Regions from separate parts of the Homo sapiens genome. Here all the other regions are linked to region 1. The links are contacts of gene promoters, found by promoter capture Hi-C in blood cells and fetal thymus (Javierre and others, 2016). All regions are on one chromosome and are shown on one strand. The core of a region is centred on a gene start or on the middle of the fragment in contact, and the rest is flanking DNA. Distances in the headings are between cores, read along the strand shown. Region 1 holds the start of ERP27 (endoplasmic reticulum protein 27). Region 2 overlaps GUCY2C-AS1 (GUCY2C antisense RNA 1). Region 3 overlaps LOC105369669. Region 4 has its middle 7.0 kb from the start of H2AJ.

Region 1 (3,050 bases), core at 361-2,860:
TCAAGCAGAGGGAGCTGGTATCTACTCTTCTAGAGGCCATGAACAATAATTAATTGAGGCCTCCTCTCTTATTCTGCTCCTTCAGATGGAATTGCTGGAGGATAAAATGATGGCATCTGGCGGCTGTTTAAGTTATTGCACACTCCTCCAATTCCATGCTCTTGCCCCTTCCCCATCTTTCTGACGGTGTTTTTGTCTACAGCTCAGATTTCTCATTCCTGAAAAATGTTGTCCCTGTCTTTCTCCCTGACTTGCATCTCATTGCAGTGATTTCCAACTGTGTACGCAGAACTGACAGGGTAATCAGGAGTTGTAACTGAGAAATGGAAACAGACAAGAAGGTCTGCTATGAGAGAGTAGGGGCTTGATCAGCTGTGAGGATTTCCAGATGCTACCACCAGAGAAAGATGAAAATGCTGGAATGAGGCAGTCTCATTTATGGCTGCCTTTCTTAGTCAAGAAGCTAATCTGGAAGATGGAGGTTAACACCTTGAATATACAAAATGCCATCATTTTCCAACATTTCAGACAAGGCAAAGAGAAAGAAGGAGAGTCTACCATATTTGGGGGAAAGGCTTTAAAAGGCTGTGCACTGACTAATGTCCAGGATGTTTGGCATCCTGTAAACAGTGTTGCTGGATGATATAAATTGGGTTCACTCTGGCCCCTGCCTATTCATAGGGTGCTATGAGAGTATAGACCAAATGTGTTTAGGACAATGGTGGGGTTCCATGAAGGCATTCTTTCTGCAGATACTGACTTGAGCTTCAAAGCATCCATAGATGAGGAGATGCAGCCCACAGGCTCAGAACTCTTGAAGTAAGTATGAGAAAGATATAATTTAGAGACTGGGAATGTCTTGAAAATAAGAGGTCCCAATGGACAAGATGAAATCAAACTGGGTGGCTGTCTCCCTTTACCCCCACTTCTAATGCAGTGCCATCTGCCAGCAGCAGGTGGCTGCTGTGGTTCCCTTAAGGTAGAACATTTCTGGCTCTTGGGGGAATTGCAAGTAGGGAACTAACCTGGAAGAAGCCTATGACAGCCACCTCAGTGGCAGCAATGAATTCCATGGCAGCTGGGACATCTGTGAGCCACGTGGGTTCCTGGGCAGCACCAGGACCATCTAGAGAGAGAAGCAGAAGATGTCAGGGTACTGAGGCAAGAAGAAGCAGCTCTAAATAATGAGGGCATCTATACCTTTTATCTCTATACTAAGGGCAAGAAGAGCACAATTTATAGGAGTACTGTTGGCATTCCAAGGCATAATATTTTTACTAACATATGGAAGGTGACCCTACTGATGGTCTGTCTCTGAAGGATACTGCCAGACTTCCCTACTCTCTACCAGGCAAAATGCACTTATCCAGGATTTCCTGGAAAGCTTTCTAGGTGTGGAGGAAAAGTACCCAGAGAACCACCATGCTCCCTTTCCTTCTCCTAATAACACTTTCACACTATAGCCACCCAACTACATTTTTCTTTTACCTGAGGATTTCTCAACTTCTGCAGCAACTTCTGCAGCCAGCTCACACGTGAGGAGAAATAAGAGGAACATGAACCTGGACGGGGCAGCTTCCATTGTCCCTCTCCTGCTCCTGCTCCAACCCTGGACTTTGTGTTGGGGAGGCCGACTCAGGGCAGCCTACTCTGTAGCTGATTGGCTGTGGGGTTGTTAGGGCTTTGGGAACTTTGCAGCTGGCTCCAGGGGAGCCTTCAACTTCTGAGATAAAAGACCAAGGTTAGTAATAGGGACTCAGAACATATCCAACCAGAAGAAAGTCAGGTCAGTTTATTTAAATAAAAAATGTAAATATGCTATGCCAGGCATTGATCCTAGCGCTAAGAATAGAAAGATAATTATGATCTGATCCAGCCTCTGCCAGCTTAGATTATCAGTGGGAGAGATGGGCAAGTAAAAAGATTATTTAAATATAAGATGGAAAGTGATATAGAAAAATTCATAGGGTGCTATGACAATACATATTAAGGGTATTAGGGACAATGCTAGGGTTCAATGAAAGTGTTCTTCCTGCGGAGGATGCCGGAGCAGAGTTCTGGGTAAGTAAGATTTTGCCAGGCAACACAAGGTAGAAAGGGAGTTTCATGTAAAGAACTAAAGCACAGGCCGGGCGTGGTGGCTCATACCTGTAATCCCAGAACTTTGGGAGGCTGAGGCAGGTGGATCACGAGGTCAGGAGATTGAGACCATCCTGGCTAACATGGTGAAACCCCATCTCTACTAAAAATACAAAAAATTAGCCAGGTGTGGTGGCGGGCGCCTGTAGTCCCAGCTACTCGGGAGGCTGAGGCAGGAGGATGGCCTGAACCCGGGAGGCAGAGCTTGCAGTGAGCCGAAATAGCACCACTGCACTCCAGCCTGGGCGACAGAGCGAGACTCCGTCTCAAAAAAAAAAAAAAAAAAAAAAAAGAACCAAAGCACAGATATGCAAATATAATGTGTGACAGAATTACTAGTAATTGAGAATGATGAAAAGGAAGGAAGTGATACATGTGGACAGAAAGGCATGTTGGGACCAGCTCACAGCAGGCTTTATATGATACACTAAGCGCGGGAGCATCAATTTTATTCTGTAGGTGATGGGAACCACTGAAAAGTCTTAAGCAGAAGAATGAGATGAAGTTTGATTTTGCTCACAAGTGTCTGAGGAAGTCCAAGATGAGATTTCCACAGGCATTGGGATATGTAGTTTTAAGCTTAGGAGAATTTTCATGTGAAAATATTACAAAAGAAATTAGGAAGCCCTAGCCAGGGCAATTAGGCAAGAGGAAGACATAAAAGGCATCTAAACAGGAAAAGAAAAAGTCAAACTATTTCTCCTTGTTGACAATATGATTGTATGCCTAGAAAGCTCTGAAGACTCTGCCAAAAGGCTACTGGAACTGATGAATGATTTCAGTAAGGTATCAGGAAAAAAATAAGTGTACAAAAATTAGTGGCATTTCTATACAGCAATAATGTCCAGGCTGAGAGTAAAATCAAGAACACAATTTCATTTACAATAGCTACAAATAAAATGAAATGCCTA
Region 2 (3,050 bases), core at 211-2,710, 210 kb before region 1:
GAGGTAATATATCTCATTGTGGTTTTGATTTGCATTTCCCTGATTAGTGATGCTGAGCATTTTCCATATCCCTTTGGTCATCTGTATGTCTTCTTTGGAGAAATGTCTACTCAGGCTTCTTGCCCATTTTTAAGTTGGGTTTTGGATTTTTTGGGTTGCTGTAGGGCTGTTTGAGTTCTTTGTATAATCCAGATATTAACCCCTTGTCAGATGCATAGTTTGCAGGTATTTTCTCCCACTCTATAGGCTTTCTCTTTGGTCTATTTCCTTTGCTGTGCAGAAGCTTTTTAGTTTGATGTAATTGCATTCACCTATTTTTGCTTTTGTTGCCTGTGTTTTTGAGGTCTTATCAAAAAAATTCTTGCTCCAGACAAATGCCATGAACCATTTCCCAGAGATAGATAGATAGATAGATAGATAGATAGATAGATAGACAGACAGACAGACAGATAGATAGATAGATGTTTTGAGACAGAGTCTGCCATGCTGGAGTGCAGTGACATGATCTTGGCTCACTGCAACCTCCGCCTCCTGGGTTCAAGTGATTCTCATGCCTCAGCCTCCCAAGTAGCTGGGATTACAAGCACATACCATCACACCTGACTAATGTTTGTATTTTTAGTAGAGGTGGGGTTTCACCATGTTGGCCAGGCTGGTCTCAAACTCCTGACCTCAAGTGATCCACCCACCTTGACCTCCCAGAGTGCTGGGATTACAGGCATGAGTCACTGCACCCAGCCCATTTACCCTATATTTTATTCTTGTAGTTTTGGATCTTTTGTTTAAGTCTTTTTTTTTTAAGAGATAGGAACTCACTATGTCCACTGTGTTGCCCAGGCTGGCCTTGAACTCTTGGGCTCAAGTGATCCTCCTGCCTCAGCCTCCTGAGTAACTGGGTCTATGGATGTGCACCACCACCTGGCTACGTTTAAGTCTTTAATCTATTTTGAGCTGATTTTGCAGTTGGTGAGATAAGGATCTAGTTTCATTCTTCTGCATATATATCCAGTTTTTCAAGCACCATTTATTAGACTGTCCTTTTCCCATTGTGTGTTCTTGGCACTTTTATTGAAAATTAGTTGGCTGTAAATATGTGCATTTATTTCTATGTTCTCTATTCTATTCCACTGGTCATTGTGATTCTTTTTTTTTATTCCAGTGCCATGCTGTTTTGGTTACAATAGTTTTGCAGTATATTTTGAAGTCAGCTACTGTGATGCCTCCAGCTTTCTTTTTCTTTGCTCAAGATTGCTTTGGCTATTCAGGGTCTTTTGTGGTTCCATGCAATTTTTTTTCTTACACTGCTATTTTGAATTCCTTGTCTAATAGGTCACACATCTTCTCTTTGGGATTTGTCACTAGCCCCTTATTTTGCCTGTTTAGTGAGGTCATAATTCCGATTGTACTTGGTGATTGTGGCTGCACTTCGATGTCTGCACATCGAAAAATTAGGTATTTATTTTAATCTTCACAGTCTGGCTTTAAATGTTCCCATGCTTCTTCAGTGGGCCTGTTCAGTTATCCAAGCCGACTGTTATGAAAGACTCTGACCAGTGCAGCTGTTCCGACACTAGAGGGTGCCCTAAGCCCATATTTGTTGTCAGTTTCACAAAAGTTCCATAGTTGGCATGCACTCTGGCAGAGATGGACCTGGTGAAGATCCAAGGCATGTACCCAAGTTGAGTGAGAATATTGGCCAGGGACCCAAGTCTGGAAGCCTGTCCCATAGGCCCAGACAGGCGAGGCTTCCAGGCCAGTTCCCCAACTGCAGCAGGAGAAGATGGAGCTGAGCCTGGGCCGCCTCTGTACCTGCTGTGGGATGGGGGCTGGTGGCCCAGATATGCAAGCCTCCCAGCAGTTCTCAGGAGATGCTGAAGTTGAGACTAGTTCCCCTCAGAATTCACTGTGAGATCAAGGCCAGTGAGTTCACCCCAGTAGGTCAGGTGGGTGCACATCCCACAGTCATTTCCTGCACAAATGGGACAGTTCCCAGACTGAGGAGCTGGAGTTGATTGGGCCCCCTCAGGATCTGCTTTGGGATGGAGGCTGATGTGCCCATCATGTAGGCTTACATGACTGACATGTGTAATCCCTAGACTGTGAGATATTGGTGAGTCTTTCTCTTGAGTTCTTGCACAAACAGTAATAAGCTGGGATCCCAGATGAGGAGGACTGGAGCCCAGTTACAAGGTAACTTTCAAATTCACTTCCAAGACCGTTGTCAGTGGGCAGACGAGCCTTTCTGCCAAGGTACTAATGTGCATGATTCCTCCTGGACCCCTTGGCAAATTGTTTTGGTTCAAGGATAAACAGGACTGTACCTAAGCCTTTTGGGAAACAAGGCTGTTTCTAGATTTAAATCCCAGGGGCATGATCAGCAGGTCTGCCACCTGGCTGTTGGTCTGCACTCTCAAAACAGTCTTTCTGGCTCTTGGGCTCCACCAGGGATTCATAGCTTCCTACCTTCCTACCTTCCTACCTTCCTACCTTCCTACCACAGAGACTTGTCTGTGGATGAATGCAGACAAATTTTGAGAGGATATGAGTGGGTGACTTCCTATTACACCATTTTGCTGATTTGTTTCTGTTACGTGTGTCCATGTGAAGAGACCACCAAACAGGCTTTGTGTGAGCAATAAAGCTTTTTAATCTCCTGGGTGCAGGTGGACTGAGTGAAAAAGGAGTCAGCAAAGGGAGGTAGGGGTGGGGCAGTTTTATAGGATTTGGGTAGGTAGTGGAAAATTACAGTTAATGGGGGTTTTTCTCTTGCGGGCAGGGGTGGGGGTCACAAGGTGCTCACTGGGGAGCTCCTGAGATTCATTGTCCAGGAGAAGGAATGTCACAAGGTCCATTGATCAGTTAGAGTGGGGCAGGAACAAATCACAGTGGTGGTGTGTCATCAGTTAAGGCAGGAACTGACTATTTTCACTTCTTTTGTGGTTCTTCAGTTGCTTCAGGTCATCTGGATGTATATGTGCAGGTCACAGGTGATATGATGGCTTAGCTTGGGCTCAGAGGCCTGACAGTCTCTAGATTTTATTTATCACTGT
Region 3 (3,050 bases), core at 305-2,804, 190 kb before region 1:
GAGGGGCTTCTGGCTGAGTTAGGTCAGAGCCTGCTCTCTTACAGACTAAGTAAGAGTTTTTAAGGATTCAGGGTGGGAGAGTTTATCAGAGGCTTGGACTGCTTCTGTGTCTTTATTGTGCTTATCTGGGAGGGAGAGTTTCATGACTGTTCCCATACATCTTCCTGCAGCTGCAGGCATACCCCCCAAGTCTGCTTTTAGCTTGCCTCTTAGTGCACCTGAAGGGAAAGGAATGAGCTTTTTAAGGCCCACTGTTTTACCGGGGCCCATTGTATGAGGGTGAAGTTTGGCAGAGACTTTCCCCCCACTTCCTCCTGTGCCGGAGCTGTCTTATCTTTGTTTTACTGTCTGCTCTTTCTGGCTGCTCCTTATTAGAAGGGAAGTGATTTCCTTGAAATGCATGAGGCTAGAAAGGGAGCTGGAACTTAAAATGGCAGTGGTTGTCTGAGATGACGGTTCTCCTGTTGTGTCACTCACCCTATTGTTGAAAATGGTACAAACATCCTCCTTATCCTGCCTATTATTTAATGCATCTCTCTCTTCTGCTTTTTGATATATCCCATCAATATTTTTCTCCATATGCCATCTTAGTTCAGATCTTTATCATTTCACATGGTTTCCAACATCAGCCTTTTATCTGGTTTGCTGAAGTTTCCTAACCTCAGTTTGTTTTGTACACAGCTATCTGTATCATGTTTCACAAACGTAATTAGATTCAGTAACAAAAACAAAATGTATTGTTTACAATAGAGCCATTAATATGCTGACTTCTGGTTATCAAAATGTCATTGCTTAAAGAAATAGATTGTGGAAGAAATATCTGTGGGTGAGGATCTTAGAAAATGTGAATTAAAGTCCCTGCTATATACCATATAATAAGTTTTATTTTCCTCATTTAGGCTTTAGTTTTCTCATTTGTAAAACAAAGTAGTTTAAATAGATGATCTCTGAAGCTTCTAAATCCTGATACTGAATATAGCTTGACTGGCCCATGGACATTCAGGTCTTTGCATTGAGTTTCCCATTAAATTTTCTGAGGCATTTTTTTTTCATTCAATAAAGTTTAAGGAACATGAGTCAGTAGCGGGCCCCATGTTGGACCCTGGGTGTAGAAAAATTCCCCACCCAGAGAAACAGAAGACAGCCATCCATCCACATATTTGTACTACATCAATATGTACTCAAGGCAGCAAGAGCAGCATTGTACACAGTGCAATGGAAGGGCAATGATAAAAAATAGCTTTGCCTGAGGATGCTAAATGAAGATAATAGGCAAGCCTACATGGTAGATACAAGAATAGAAAAAAAAAAAACCTGAAAAGCAAGGAGGCAGAAAAGATTCAATAAAATGTTAGGTAGACATCTGATTAAAGTGGATTATTAAATACAAACTCCTAGTTAAGTGCAGTGGATTAAATGTATATGCTTATCTTTGCTTCTCCTTATTTCTCTAAAATGATAATGCATAGATTAAAAAAATACAAACTGTAAAAGAAAAAAAAGAGAAGATAACAGCTGACCAGAGATGGCAAGAAAATTGGGAAAAATTAGAGAGAATATGGACATGAGAAAATTCACTTAGAAGACTGAATAAAGATGAAAACTATGTACTCTACAAGTTCAGGGGAGAGCCAAAAAAAGCAACTTCCACTTGCATTGAGGAACTCCAAAAGTGTCAGAAATTAAAAATGCAAGATGCCTCTGAAGGTAGTTGTGCAGATAGGGCTGAAAACAGAAGGTCTGGTTTAAAGTTGGTTTGAGAATCAGTTAGAGCCTGTGCGGCCCACCCTTACCTCAACAGAGATGGGAGGTTTATTCTCTGGAGACACTGAATCAGAGGATTCAATGTGAAGGATAGACATCTGCTATCCTTCACACTCAGGACAGCAGAAAGGTGAGGAGGCTGAACTGAAAGGGGTAGGGACTAGAAACCTACACACTGAAAAATGAGACCCCAAGCTCCAGTCCACAACTTTGGGTTTGTTTACATGTAGACTTATTATTGTACAGGCAGAGGATTCTCATGGAAAACTGACATAGCAAAAAAAAAAAAAAAAAAACCTAAGGATACTGGCAGCTAATGATTCACTTAAAAATAAGTCCCTACCTGTTACCCTACAGAGAAAGTCATTGGTCAACAGGTAGAACTTAAGTACAAAGCTTGCAATCAGCTTTCCAGTGCCGCACTATTAAATATGAATGGGAAGCTTAAATATTATCTGGCATTAGAGGGAAGCCTCCATTATAAAATACACAGAAAAAAACTATATATAAAATATACAGAAAATATACAGAAAAAGTACTCCAAAAAATTAAAAGTGTAAGAAGAATAATGAAGTATCGGGGAACCTGCCCCCTGTAGTCACGTAGGTTCTTTTCTGTTTTCCCCAAGCGTCAGCCAGGTTGAGAAATAAAGGGACAGAGTACAAAAGAGAGAAATTTTAAAGCTGGGTGTCTGGGGGAGACATCACATATCGGTAGGTTCCGTGATGCCCCCCGAGCCATGAAACCAGCAAGTTTTTATTAGTGATTTTCAAAAGGGGAGGGAGTGTACGAATAGGGTGTGGGTCACAGAGATCATGTGCTTCACAAGGTAATAGAATCTCACAAGGCAAATGGAGGCAGGGCGAGATCACAGGACCACAGGACTGGGGCGAAATTAAAATTGCTAATGAAGTTTCGGGTACCATTGTCATTGATATCATCTTATCAGGAGATAGGGTTTGAGAGCAACCAGTCTGACCAAAATTTATTAGGTGGGAATTTCCTCATCCTAATAAGCCTGGGAGCGCTATGGGAGACTGGGGCTTATTTCATCCCTACAGTTTTGACCATAGAAGACGGCCACACCCAAGGGGGCCATTTTAGAGGCCGACCCTCAGGGGTGCATTCTCTTTCTCAGGGATGTTCCTTGCTGAGAAAAAGAATTCAGCGATGATATTTCTCCCATTTGCTTTTGAAAGAAGAGAAATATGGCTGTGTTCCTCCCGGCTCACCAGTAGTCAGAGTTTAAGGTTATCTCTCTTGTTCCCTGAACATTGCTGTTATCC
Region 4 (3,050 bases), core at 253-2,752, 160 kb before region 1:
CCCTGATGAAATGGTGCGTTTTAGAGATGGAAGTGTACAGATTAGCCTTGTAGTGAGACATCATGAAGAAAGCATGTGTTTGGCCTGAAAGAAGTGCAGTTTTAAATTGTGAAGACTAGGAGAAATGCAGTGGTATGTAAAGATGTGTAACCTCTAACCCCCAGAGTTTGGCCATGGGCCAGCTATTAGTCTAGGCAGACAAAACAAAATAGTCCAGTTCTCAGGCGCACATAGACAAGACTGAGGAAGACATCTTAATCAGGTTTGGAAATGGTAACCCCAGGCAAAATTTATCCTAAGATGTCTGGTCTGGAGACCTTCTGAACTCATTAGCACTTGGAGGTCACTTGCAAACAGATTTATCAGAACTATGTTTATAACTTTCCCTGTGGACAACACTAAATATTAAGCAAGCAGTAGAAGCAAGGAATAGAAGACTAAAAATGGTTTGATGAAAGAATATAAATCTGATTAGATAATTTAAAAAATTCCAAGAGACCGTCTTCCTAGGGAAACACATAAAGTCAACACTGAAGTGCTTCAACAGAATATAGGAACTCAGTTCAATGTGAACTTACTTCCCAGCCATGAGCAAGTGGCACCTCATAAACATTAAGTCACAAGAGGTCTCAGATGTGTGCACTGCGTTGAGAGTCCTGGTGCAAGCAATGAGAGCTTTGGCCAAACCTGTATTTTTGTCTGTGTCCTCCAGCCCAAGACCATCAGGAACATACTCGTAGTTGAACAAGTTGGATTTATTTCTCTTTGCAGCAAGGGGGAACACATTCCATGGGGAAATGTGGGGTGTCTCAGTAAGAGGCTGTTAGGGTGTATTACAGGATTTGGGTTTGTGTTAGTTGATTTGGGGGCTTTGCTCAGAATTGCATCCTGTCAGGAAGTAGGGTGCAAGGAATGCTGTAATGTGCAGAATGAAGTGAAACTAAAGCTGTCATTGGTAAATATGCTAATGCATATTAGTCAGGATAGTGGGTTTTTGTTCATTTTTGTTGTTTGGACAATGTTCATGTTTTTGTTTCTGTTCAGACATGATTACAGAATGGTCTTTTTTTAATTTGATTTTTCACAGCCTTGTCTTGTGTTAGTGTTCTGTGAATTGTTTATGTTCAACAGATCACCACAGTGTAGCTGTGTCAGGCCAACTCCTAGCAACAGCACAGTCTAGCTGATAGTCCAGGTCATGGGCTGCTTTTCCCTTGCTCATTAGCTTAAAAAATAATGTGACACCCAGAAGAGTGGTTGCTCAGCGGTGGAAGTAGACAAATACATCTCAAGGCAAATGTTGGCAGTGTCCAAGCATCATGCAAAAGAGGGAGCTACTGTCTTCGAGTAGTTTAGTTACACATTTACATATTTTAAGCATCCATATCCGCTAACAAAATCCTCATTTTCATGTTTATCAAGTAACTTTCTATCTTGAATGTATCTTTTTGTCCATGTCTTCACATAGGGTAAGAATGTCCTTGTTTCTTGAACATGGTATTCCAGGTGTTCCTCATAATAAATCATGCTTTAAATTTTTTATATCTGTATATGCATATTACTTATATTTATTTAAACGTATATATTAGGTAAATACCATGACCTCACTTTCCTCCCTTCTTCCAATATCCTGTTTCCCATTGCCCAGCCCAAATGGAAGACAAAAGAAAGCCCATTGATGCCCTATCTACAGTTTAGCCTTCTGGAGGCATACAGCAGGGTAGAAAAGTATAAAGAGGGCGTTAGGAGGGCAGACCTCTTAGTTGTCCAAATATAATATGAGCATGCATCCATTGCTGGGGAAAGAGTGTCACTGGACGTTTTACAACATGATTAAGGTTATCTCCTCACAAAACCCTTGATATACAGAGTGTTCTAGCAAGAGCAAACAGTCCAGATGAAACCTCTGTGTTGCAAAACTGTCATAAGAGTAGTCCTTAAATGAAGTCTATAAAATTTATAGCTTTACAGATTCCAGCCTGTTCTTCTGCCATTCTTTATACCACTCACCAGCCATACAAAACTCTCTCTTGTCTCTTCCAGCAGGGTACAAGGGCCCAGAGAACTCACAACCTCTTTTTTGCTTCAGCCCATCCACTAGAACTAGCTCAGGCTTAATCTAACTGCAAAGAAGCCCAGGAAATATAGAAGAGAAGATGAAATATTTTGGTGAGTACCATTGTCTCTGCCAGTTTCTTGGAGCATTTTTGCTTACTTCCTAGTTCTTAGCTTTGTTCTATTTAACATACTTCTGTTGTGGAGCTTGCCAGTTAATTAAAGTTCCTTTGAGATTTTTCAAGAAAAGTGACACACACAGTTATATTAGCTAGCACACATAAGCTAACAGTACTAGCTAGTAGCCCCTGCCAAAAGGTGCTTGAGAAATATTCCATTTGTTTTTGCCAAAGGAACCTATGCTAAGAATTGTTTTAAAACGTTGTGATAGTAGAAGTAAAGACCACTGAGTTTTCTTTGGATTCATGTGTGCCAGTTATGAATTTATTGGTTCTGAGCTCCAAATTAAAACTTCAAATTCGGCTCTGAGAAGTTTTCTCAGTAGAGGGCCCTGTAGAGAAACCTTGCAGGAAGAAAGGGCGTTATTTCCATTTGGACACCAAGTAAGGTAGGCTACCTGCCTTCAGTACAGGTTTCATGTTAGGAAACCAGAGTAGTGACAGAAACTGTATAGCTCACAAAGCCCAAAATACTCACCATCTGGCCCTTTAGAGAAAGTTTGCTGATCCCTGTTCCAGTCTATGTGTGGAAACAAAAATGAAGAATACAAGGCTCCCCAAACCACAAAGCATCTATTGAAATAACTGATGTTGTTCTGCTAGTTTTTTTCCCATAAAAAAACTAGCAGAACAACATCAGTTATTTCAAACAGATACTTTTTAAGGTTAACCCTTCAGTTTTAAAACAATCTGTCTTAAAATTATTTCTTCAAATACAAGTTTTTTTTTTTTTCCCCATGAACATGTATTTTGTAAATGAACTTTGAGGGTACAAGTGTAAATTTAAAAATACCTCCTCCTTTGGTCTGGGTTATT

The links. Contacts are between HindIII fragments. The CHiCAGO score rates a contact against its expected background, and 5 or more counts as called.
Region 2: a contact is called between a fragment that was not itself captured here and the fragment with the promoter of ERP27 in region 1, in 6 of 17 cell types (total CD8 T cells, naive CD8 T cells, naive CD4 T cells and 3 more). The highest score is 9.7, in total CD8 T cells.
Region 3: a contact is called between a fragment that was not itself captured here and the fragment with the promoter of ERP27 in region 1, in 2 of 17 cell types (naive CD8 T cells and total CD8 T cells). The highest score is 6.3, in naive CD8 T cells.
Region 4: a fragment that was not itself captured here is called in contact with the fragment with the promoter of ERP27 in region 1 in 6 of 17 cell types (total CD8 T cells, naive CD8 T cells, naive CD4 T cells and 3 more); the score reaches 8.8 in total CD8 T cells.

Annotation. Positions count from the first base shown.
Region 1 is chr12:14,936,927-14,939,976 of GRCh38, forward strand. It overlaps ERP27 (endoplasmic reticulum protein 27), which reads right to left and starts at 1,611. Exons shown (of 7, transcript NM_152321.4): 1 at 1,489-1,611; 2 at 1,026-1,126. The coding sequence starts at 1,582. RefSeq lists an enhancer at 1,067-1,126. The HindIII fragment of the contact is 1,334 bases long and covers 1,383-2,716 here.
Region 2 is chr12:14,722,306-14,725,355 of GRCh38, forward strand. All of the region lies in intron 5 of GUCY2C-AS1 (GUCY2C antisense RNA 1), which reads left to right. Among named protein-coding and RNA genes, the nearest start is that of GUCY2C, 27 kb to the left of the region's middle. RefSeq lists an enhancer at 1,656-1,845. The HindIII fragment of the contact is 2,358 bases long and covers 282-2,639 here.
Region 3 is chr12:14,743,305-14,746,354 of GRCh38, forward strand. All of the region lies in intron 2 of LOC105369669, which reads right to left. Among named protein-coding and RNA genes, the nearest start is that of H4C16, 26 kb to the right of the region's middle. The HindIII fragment of the contact is 1,207 bases long and covers 952-2,158 here.
Region 4 is chr12:14,779,868-14,782,917 of GRCh38, forward strand. No RefSeq gene overlaps it. Among named protein-coding and RNA genes, the nearest start is that of H2AJ, 7.0 kb to the left of the region's middle. The HindIII fragment of the contact is 4,266 bases long and covers 1-3,050 here.